Regions from separate parts of the Homo sapiens genome. Here region 1 is linked to region 2. The links are contacts of gene promoters, found by promoter capture Hi-C in blood cells and fetal thymus (Javierre and others, 2016). All regions are on one chromosome and are shown on one strand. Each heading gives the region's core, a stretch centred on a gene start or on the middle of the fragment in contact. The rest is flanking DNA. Distances are from core to core; before and after follow the strand shown. Region 1 holds the start of BPHL (biphenyl hydrolase like). Region 2 holds the start of TUBB2B (tubulin beta 2B class IIb).

The links. Contacts are between HindIII fragments. The CHiCAGO score rates a contact against its expected background, and 5 or more counts as called.
Region 1: the fragment with the promoter of BPHL here is called in contact with the fragment with the promoter of TUBB2B in region 2 in 1 of 17 cell types (activated CD4 T cells); the score reaches 5.3 in activated CD4 T cells.

What each region holds. Positions count from the first base shown.
Region 1 is chr6:3,116,914-3,120,972 of GRCh38, reverse strand. BPHL (biphenyl hydrolase like) reads right to left here and starts at 2,262. Exons shown (of 7, transcript NM_004332.4): 1 at 2,126-2,262. The coding sequence starts at 2,232. It overlaps LOC107986556 (a long non-coding RNA gene), which reads left to right and starts at 2,326. Exons shown (of 4, transcript XR_001743928.3): 1 at 2,326-3,184. RefSeq lists a silencer at 1,965-2,354 and an enhancer at 2,393-3,028. The HindIII fragment of the contact is 8,418 bases long and covers 1,354-4,059 here.
Region 2 is chr6:3,226,189-3,230,003 of GRCh38, reverse strand. It overlaps TUBB2B (tubulin beta 2B class IIb), which reads left to right and starts at 2,351. Exons shown (of 4, transcript NM_178012.5): 1 at 2,351-2,517; 2 at 3,335-3,443; 3 at 3,735-3,815. The coding sequence starts at 2,461. RefSeq lists enhancers at 197-753, 2,049-2,707, 2,708-3,368 and a silencer at 2,155-2,444. The HindIII fragment of the contact is 13,618 bases long and covers 1-3,224 here.

The DNA.
Region 1 (4,059 bases), core at 1,013-3,512, 110 kb after region 2:
CATTAGAACTCCAGAGGCCATGATTCCTCTCTAACCTCATGGCTGAACAGAGTCCTAAGAGGGCTCAGGCACCGGGGCCACACTCTGACTGCCAGATACAGCGTGGTGGCAAGCGTCAGCAGAAGGACAGTCTCTGATTCTCTGGCAGGGCATCCCAAGGTTGAACTTGGAAAATATTTTTTAGGAAGATTGTTAGGTTATGTGAATTATTAATATTTATAACTGCACATAATATCCAATTTCAGGTAGAAAAGGCTTTTCTTGACCTGACCCAGGAATAAATCACCTTACGGATTTTGAAATAAGGGTCAAAGTTCCAAACAGCAGACTTACAAACAAGTTTTTGGAACAAAAGTCAGTTGTAGGTTGGGCACTGGCTATTCTGAAGCAAAGTTTTTACACGAATCCTTTTACCTACTGACACTGAGCTACAGCTGCATTTCAGGATTAACTAATACCACTGCTTGTTTTCCCAGATTATATGTCATATCAACTTGCAGCTGCATTTATAAAACGGCCGTACAAAATCCAGAAAAACCTGTTTCTTCAGAGATATTTTAGGAAGAATGATCTGCAATGCAACTAGATGGATGGGGCCTTCCTCAACCATTAAATAACCTATCAGAACTATACTGGTAGGCCGAGAGCGGTGGCTCACGCCTGTAATCCCAGCACTTTGGGAGGCTGAGGCAGGTGGATCATTTGAGGTCAAGAGTTCGAGATCAGCTTGGCCAACATGGTGAAACCCCATCTCTACTAAAAACACAAAAATTAGCCGGGCATGGTGGCAGGTACCTGTAATCCCAGCTACTCGGGAGGCTGAGGCCACGAGAATCGCTTAAACCTGGGAGGCAGAGGTTGCAGTGAGCGAGATCACAACACTGCACTCCAGCATGGGCAAAAGAGCGAGAGTCAGTCTCAAAAAAAAAAAGAACTATATTGGTACAATCACAGTAACTTATTTCGATGCCTTTCTGCAGACAGGAAACTGGAAAAAATAATCATTTTCACTGTTAATTTATACAGCTGTAGCCATTAACATGTTTTTCCATCTATCAAAATAGCCCTGACCATCTTATAATAATTCTAAAATTAAAGGAGCTAGTCAATTGCAATATGAAATTTTAAAAGCTGGTCAGATTTGCCCTCTTTTCTCCTTCTAAATCAAGTTTTCAAACTAAAAGTTTCTATGTTGGATCAAGTACAGTTCTAAACGCTGTGTACCTATCTAGTACTGACTTTATGAAAGTAGCCCATCAACAGTCAACTGCGCACATGCACTGTGTACGTTCGTTGTATACGTGTGTTTGCATGTGTGTAGGGATGTATGTAGAGAATAAAGTAAAACAAGCTTCATGCCGCTCTATCCACATTTCTGCCCAGTATCTCTTGGGACCAAGAGTATCCATTTTCAAGACAGAAGGTCAGAAATTAATCCAGTTTTTTTGTTATTGTTTTACCTGAAATGGGGGGACAGGTGGGAGGACAAAAGAGAATAAAGCAGATTCCTGGGCATCTCCACACATGTAGATCAGATCCTCTGGGAGTGAGGCCCAGGATTCTGAATTTTCAGTTCCCAACGTGATTCTTTTGCACATTAAGGTACGAGATCAGCAAGCAAAGAGAAGACTTAGGGCTCTCGGGACCCGTGATTAAAGCCTTAGCGGTACTCAGGCTCAGGCTGATTTCTGACATAAGAGAAAGAAGAGATTATTGTCCTTATGCCCTTAGTGTGGACTCTGGACAGAGCAATGGACTAATGAGGGCGTTGGGATTCTAGTCCGTGCTCCGTCACGGGTGAGTCCATACTACAGGCAAATGTATCTCCCTGGGTCTCTCTGGTCTGCACACTGAAGGGGCTGCACTCTATAGCCCAAGCCTCCACGGCTCCAGACTCCTTGAACTGAGGCTGACCGAGGCGCATGCACGATCGAGGGGCTCGAGCACCAAGCGCGGCTGGCCCCCAGGATCGGGGTCTCGCGGCACAAAGGGCGACAGGGCAGCCAGGCCGCGCCCACGCCCCGTGCCCGCGCGCCGGGAACTCCTGCTGTCGGCACGCGCCCCTCCCGCCGCCCCTCGAGCGCGCCGATGCTGGGGATCCCCGGGGCGAGGTGGCCGCCATTACCCGAACGCGGCCGCGGGTCCGGCCCGTGGGACGTGGATCCCGGGCTTCAGCGCTGAGAGAAGCAGCCGCAGGCGCAACACGCCCCGGCCGCCCAGCACAGCCACCATGGTCACAGGTCGCGTAGCTGCCGGGAGTGCGCATGCGCTAAGACCAAGCGCGGTACCCGGCCCACTCTGCCCCGAAGCCACGCCCTCTGCTCCGCCCACCTCGCCTCTCCATCCTGCTCCGCCCTCTGCCCGCCCCGCCCCGAAGCCACGCCCTGCCGGGTGCTTTCCCATGGGCGACCGAAACTCGGCTCGTGGTTTCGCAGTCCTGGAACCGCCGGCACCCGCGTAGACCGTCCCCTCTCGGTGCTGGCTCTGGCTCCCGGGATGAGTGTCCCCGTCGGCGCTGCCCCGCCCTCGCTCGTCGCCTCAGCGACCATGGCCTTTCCAGGAGGCGAGGCCGCCAGCCATAGCGCCCTCGCTGCGTCGGCGTCCAGGCGGGACTCCGGAGTGGGCGGGGCTCCGGCTCTAGGCAGGCTGCTATGTTGGATCAAGTAAAGTTCTAAACGCTGTGCACCTATTTAGTACTGACTAGTACTAGGAAGTGTATTTGCTTTTCGGAGATGATGGGATCTAAATTTTGTTTATACCACTTCACGCCCATTAGGATGGCTACTAGCAAAACCCCCAGAAATTAGTGTTGGTGAAGATGTAGAGAAATTGAAGCCCTTGTATATTGCTGTTGGGAATGTAAAATGGTGCAGCCATGTGATGAACAATACTGCGGTTCCTCAACAAATCAGTTATATGATCCAGCATTTTCTTTTCTGGGTATATAACCCAAAAGAATTTAAAACAGGGTGTACAAGAAGAAATGTTTTTACACTCACGTTGACAGCGGCACTATTCACAATAGCCAAAAGGGTGGAGGCAATTTAAGTGTCCAAAAACAGATACATGGATAAGCAAAATGTTGTCTGTGCATGCAAGGGAACATTTTTTAGCCTGAACAAAGAACGAAATTCTGACACTTGCTACTACATGGATGAACCTGGAGGACACTATGCTGAGGGAGGTAAGCCAGTCAAAAAAAGACAAATACTGTGTGATTCCACTTATATAATAAGGTACCTAGAGGAGTCAAACTTATAGGGACAGAAAATAGAATGGGGGTTGTTGAGGGCTGGTGGAAGGGGGAATGGAAAGTTGGTGTTTCATGGGGACAGAGTTTCAGTTTGGAGAGATGAAAAAGTCCTGGGGATGGATTTTGGTGATGCCTGCATTACATTGTGAGTGTACTTACTGCCACTGAACTACACACCTAAAAGTGGTTTAAGTGGTAAGTTTTATGTATGTTTTACCACAATTAATTTTTTTTCTTTTGGCTGTATAATTGCAGCTTTATAAAGGTTATAGACATTATCTAATTGAAAGCTCAGTGGAGAAAAAAAACAACTATTGCTTTTTAAGTCAATCGTTCTGCCTTAATTGGAAATAACTGGCAGATTTGTGGCTACTGTTGTAGCCTTGGCTTGAATAATTGGAGACAACAGCTTCTTTGCATATTGCATTTCTTCTCCTCCAAGAGACCTTTTTGGTGTAACAGTCAGTCCTGTGAGCACAGTGCTTGTAGGTGTTACACTCATAGAAATTTCTGTCACCTGCAGTGTCCTCACTGGCCCATTGGACTTTCTTGAGTAGTAAAGGCAGTTTTGGCCTAAATACAGACTATGCAAAAGTTTTCATATTCTACTCTCAACATAAATCTATCACATTAATTCCTGCATAAAAGGAAAGAGACATATATAATGTTTGAGTTTAATATCGTTTGACTTTCAGAAATCTTTGGTGAGGTCAGTATTTCCTTTTTTCCTGATATGTTGATTGGGGTTTCATCTCAGAAATGATAAAAATAGCTGTCTGTACAGTTTCAACACCAGTTACCCTTGT
Region 2 (3,815 bases), core at 1,102-3,601:
TCTTGAACACGCGTTTTCACCCGGGCACTGAATGGAGATTTGGCTCGGAAACAGAAGCTGAGAAATGAATTGGTTAGATGAAGGAGGCAGGCGGCCAGCTCAAGTTACTCAGCATGGAGCTGAGCGGCCCCCAACCCCACCCCCCAGCGCTGAGCATCAGGGTTGCTCCTGGGAGCTCGCAGCGAGGGGGTGACCGCTCCGAGTGTGTCTACACTCGCCGCGCGGGTGCCGCCCTAGCTCTGTTCCTTCCGGCGCAGCTTGGTCCCACCAGAGCCGCCACCTCGAGGCTGACACCTGCCACAGCCCTTTTGGCCGAGATGCGGTCACTTTCCCTGAGGTCTGGTGTGCCCAAAAGACGAGATTCCAGTCCGAGCCCTGTCCTCAACTTGCTGTATGACCTTGGGAATTGCTAGCCCTCGACGTTTCGGCATCTGCAGGATCTGGATTAGAAACTCGGAGGTCAGGCCCCGAGACCTTGGTACCGGGAGAGCAGGGCATGTGGACAGACCCTCCGCTGCTCTCTGCCTCTCGGTAGACCCCACCCTCACCCGGGCACGCCGGCCGGGTCTGGAATACCGGCCGGCGAGCTCCAGTCTGGGCGCCCTGGATGTTTGGGGGCGCCTGGGCTTTTGTTCTCGCTACTTCTCTTTGTACATTGGAATCGACTTGAACCCCCCACCCTCCACCCCACAGCGGGAAAGGGAGGCGATGACAGCTTGCTGATAGTTCTGGGAGGGTCTCGCTCAACAGCTGCAGGCTGAGCTCCGCCGCGTGCGCCCGGGTCATTCGGCCTTTCTCGCCAGGGGATGAAAGAGGTCACGTCACCTCGCCAACGGCCCTTCCGAAGTGTGGGGCGGCGCGCTTCAGTCATCGAATTGCAGGGAACAGGTTGTGCAGTGAACGTTTCTGACACCCTTTCCCCTCCCGCCCTCAAACGCACGCAGGATTAGTCTCTCTCTCTCTCTCTTTCTCTCTCTCTCTCACACACACACACACACACGCGCGCGCGAAAAGTAACAAAGAGACCAGTTCCTGCCTCAGTACCTAGAGACTGCGGATCTGAAGGGAGGGTCTGTGCTCCAAGTCTGTGCACGCGCTCGTGCGAGTGCGCGTGGGTCTTGGGTCGTCTCGCGCGCGCTGGGCTGCAGTTTTTAGTCGTATTCCCCACCCTTCAACCGCAGCACGAAGCCTCGGACCTCCAGGTCGCCGCGATGGAAGATAAGAAAGTTTGTTACTCGGGCTTGGGCCACCCTTGGAACCCACCCTCTTACTTGACAATAGATGAACTGAATCCGAGGGCGGGGTGGGGGGGTGGGGCGCCTGTCGTGTGGTTTTAAATACTGGGTTACACAGCGTATCCCACGTTTCTGAGAGCCCTTTGTTCCGCCGACAGCCCCGCCCCCGGGACCCCACCCTCTTTCTGCCCTCCGGACGGTCAGTGCAGCGCCACCGGCCACTCCCACTCCATCACTAGCGAGCAACAAAAGTCAACCCCCGGGGCAGAGGGCTCCTGGGTACCAGCAGGGGCGTTATGCACTCCCGGAGAGGGTCGGGCAGGGCTGAGGGGCTCCGAGGTCGCTTCACCCCTAGATGCTGCGGCGCAGTGAGAGGAGCTACCAGCCCAAGACAGACAAAGGAGAAAGCAGGCCCACGCTGGGGCGGGGGCGGAGGCCGCGCTGGTGTTCATGGGCCGCAGGTGTCCCGGTTGCCATCAAGCACGACTTCCTTCTGGGGCCACCTGTCCTCCCCCAGGCCTCTGTGAGACGGAGCGCCGCCTGGGCAGTCGCTGGCCTCCAGGGTTGAGGAAAAAGACGGTGGTCTCACCAGGGGCAGTTGGCTGGAGGGACTCTGGCCAGTGGCCGAGTAGGAGCCGCAGTCCGAGGTGGCGGAGCAGCCTGTGCCACCTCAGCCCTCCCACCTGCCGGCACTGGAGCACCTGACGGCTTCTCCACATGCTCCAGTCCTCCATCGTTCCCATCCGGTGCCAGCTCTGCCCCCACCCCGGTCAGGACGCGCTGGTGGCCCTCGCCTCGCCGCCCTCTCACCCTCCTTTTCTTCACTGTTCCCCCATATCCCCATACCCAGACCCCCACCACAGCCCCAGACAATGCGCACGCCCCCACCATACTCCCGGTAGCCCCCACCCCTCTCCCGGTCGGCACGCCCGCTCTGATTGGCCGCGGGCCGGTGGTCCAGCCCCCCGGACGGTCCCTAGGGCTCGGAGCATTACGTCAGCCGGGCCTGGAGAGCGCCAGCGCGAAGGGGACTGGGGGGCTCGGGCTGGGGGCGCGGCCTGTGCCGGCCGCCCCACCCTCCTTGCATAAAAGCCGGAGCCCGCGGGGCCGGCGCTCTCAGCCCGTCGGTTCCCGAGCGCCTTCCCGGTGACCCCGCAGTGGGTGTGTGAGGGGAGGACGGACAGACCCAGACGCCGCCGGACCAGGAGGACGCTGACGAGGCACCATGCGTGAGATCGTGCACATCCAGGCGGGCCAGTGCGGCAACCAGATCGGCGCCAAGGTGGGCGCGCCGCAGCGGAGGGGGTCCAATGGGGGCGCGAACCTGGGCCGAGAGCCCCTCGGGGTCCCCAGGCGCGGTCCTGGGAAGGCCTGGGGATCGCCAAATGCAGACCTTCCTGGCCGCTTTGTGCCGCCGAGTGTGGCCTGGGCTAGGAGGTGACTTTCGCGGACGGAGGGGGCACCTCTCTTTCTTTCTGCTGTAACTCATTTGGAGTCCCCGTCACCCCCTCGGCCTCCCTCCGCGCTGGCTGCTTGGCAGGCACGCGTGCCTGGAGAAGACGAGGGTGTGTCCGCGAGGCTGTGCGCGGCGCTCCGCGCGAGGGGCTGGGACACCAGGAGGATTAATTGTACTCGCTTGAACCGGAGTCGAGCTGCCGGGGGAGGGGAGGAGAGCGATTGTCTTGCGGTCTCAGGACGTGCTTTGAATCTAAAACCGCGGTCCTTTAGCTCCTTTGCGTTCCTCTTTCCCCGCCCACCCGCTCCTGGCGGGCTGCAGTCCCTGTGCCCTCGCCTCCTGCCGCAGCCTGGGGCTGCGACCAGTGCGCCAAGCTCCGCCACTGCCCGGCTTTGGCTGGTCCTTACCCCCTCGACCCCTACCTCCCCCCGCGAGCGGCAGCTGTTTGCCTGGGAAACGCCCAGTTTCAACTTTCTGAACCTGCAAAATACAAGCCCCGCGGCTGTGCCCGGGTCACGACGCCCTTTAAAGCTTCAAGCTCCTGAAATGTTGGGTTGTCGGAACTGAGTCGGGGACATTTCATTGTGAGCCTTGGCGTTTCTGGGGGCATCGTTCATGGCTAAATGCAGCCTTTCTGTCTCAGTTTTGGGAGGTCATCAGTGATGAGCATGGGATTGACCCCACTGGCAGTTACCATGGAGACAGTGATTTGCAGCTGGAGAGAATCAATGTTTACTACAATGAAGCCACTGGTAATCACCCTTGCCCCACCCCCACTCCCTTCAGTTTTTCCACCTTCTCCCCTTTCCCTTGCGTGGGACCCCAGGGGTGTGGCCCTGGGAGAGGGTGGACTATTCAGTTTAGGATCCCCGCTCTTTCCCTGCAGTATTTCATTGGGCTTCCTTATGCCAACAGAGCCCTTTGAGAACCTGATGGTGGGTCTCCCTTTGTTTGGGGCAACATCTGCATGATGGCAGCAGGCGCCAAGCCCTTCTCTGCAGAGGTCCTTGCCTGAGGGTCTAAGTCACTGTTGTTCCTTGCAGGTAACAAATATGTTCCTCGGGCCATCCTCGTGGATCTGGAGCCAGGCACGATGGATTCGGTTAGGTCTGGACCATTCGGCC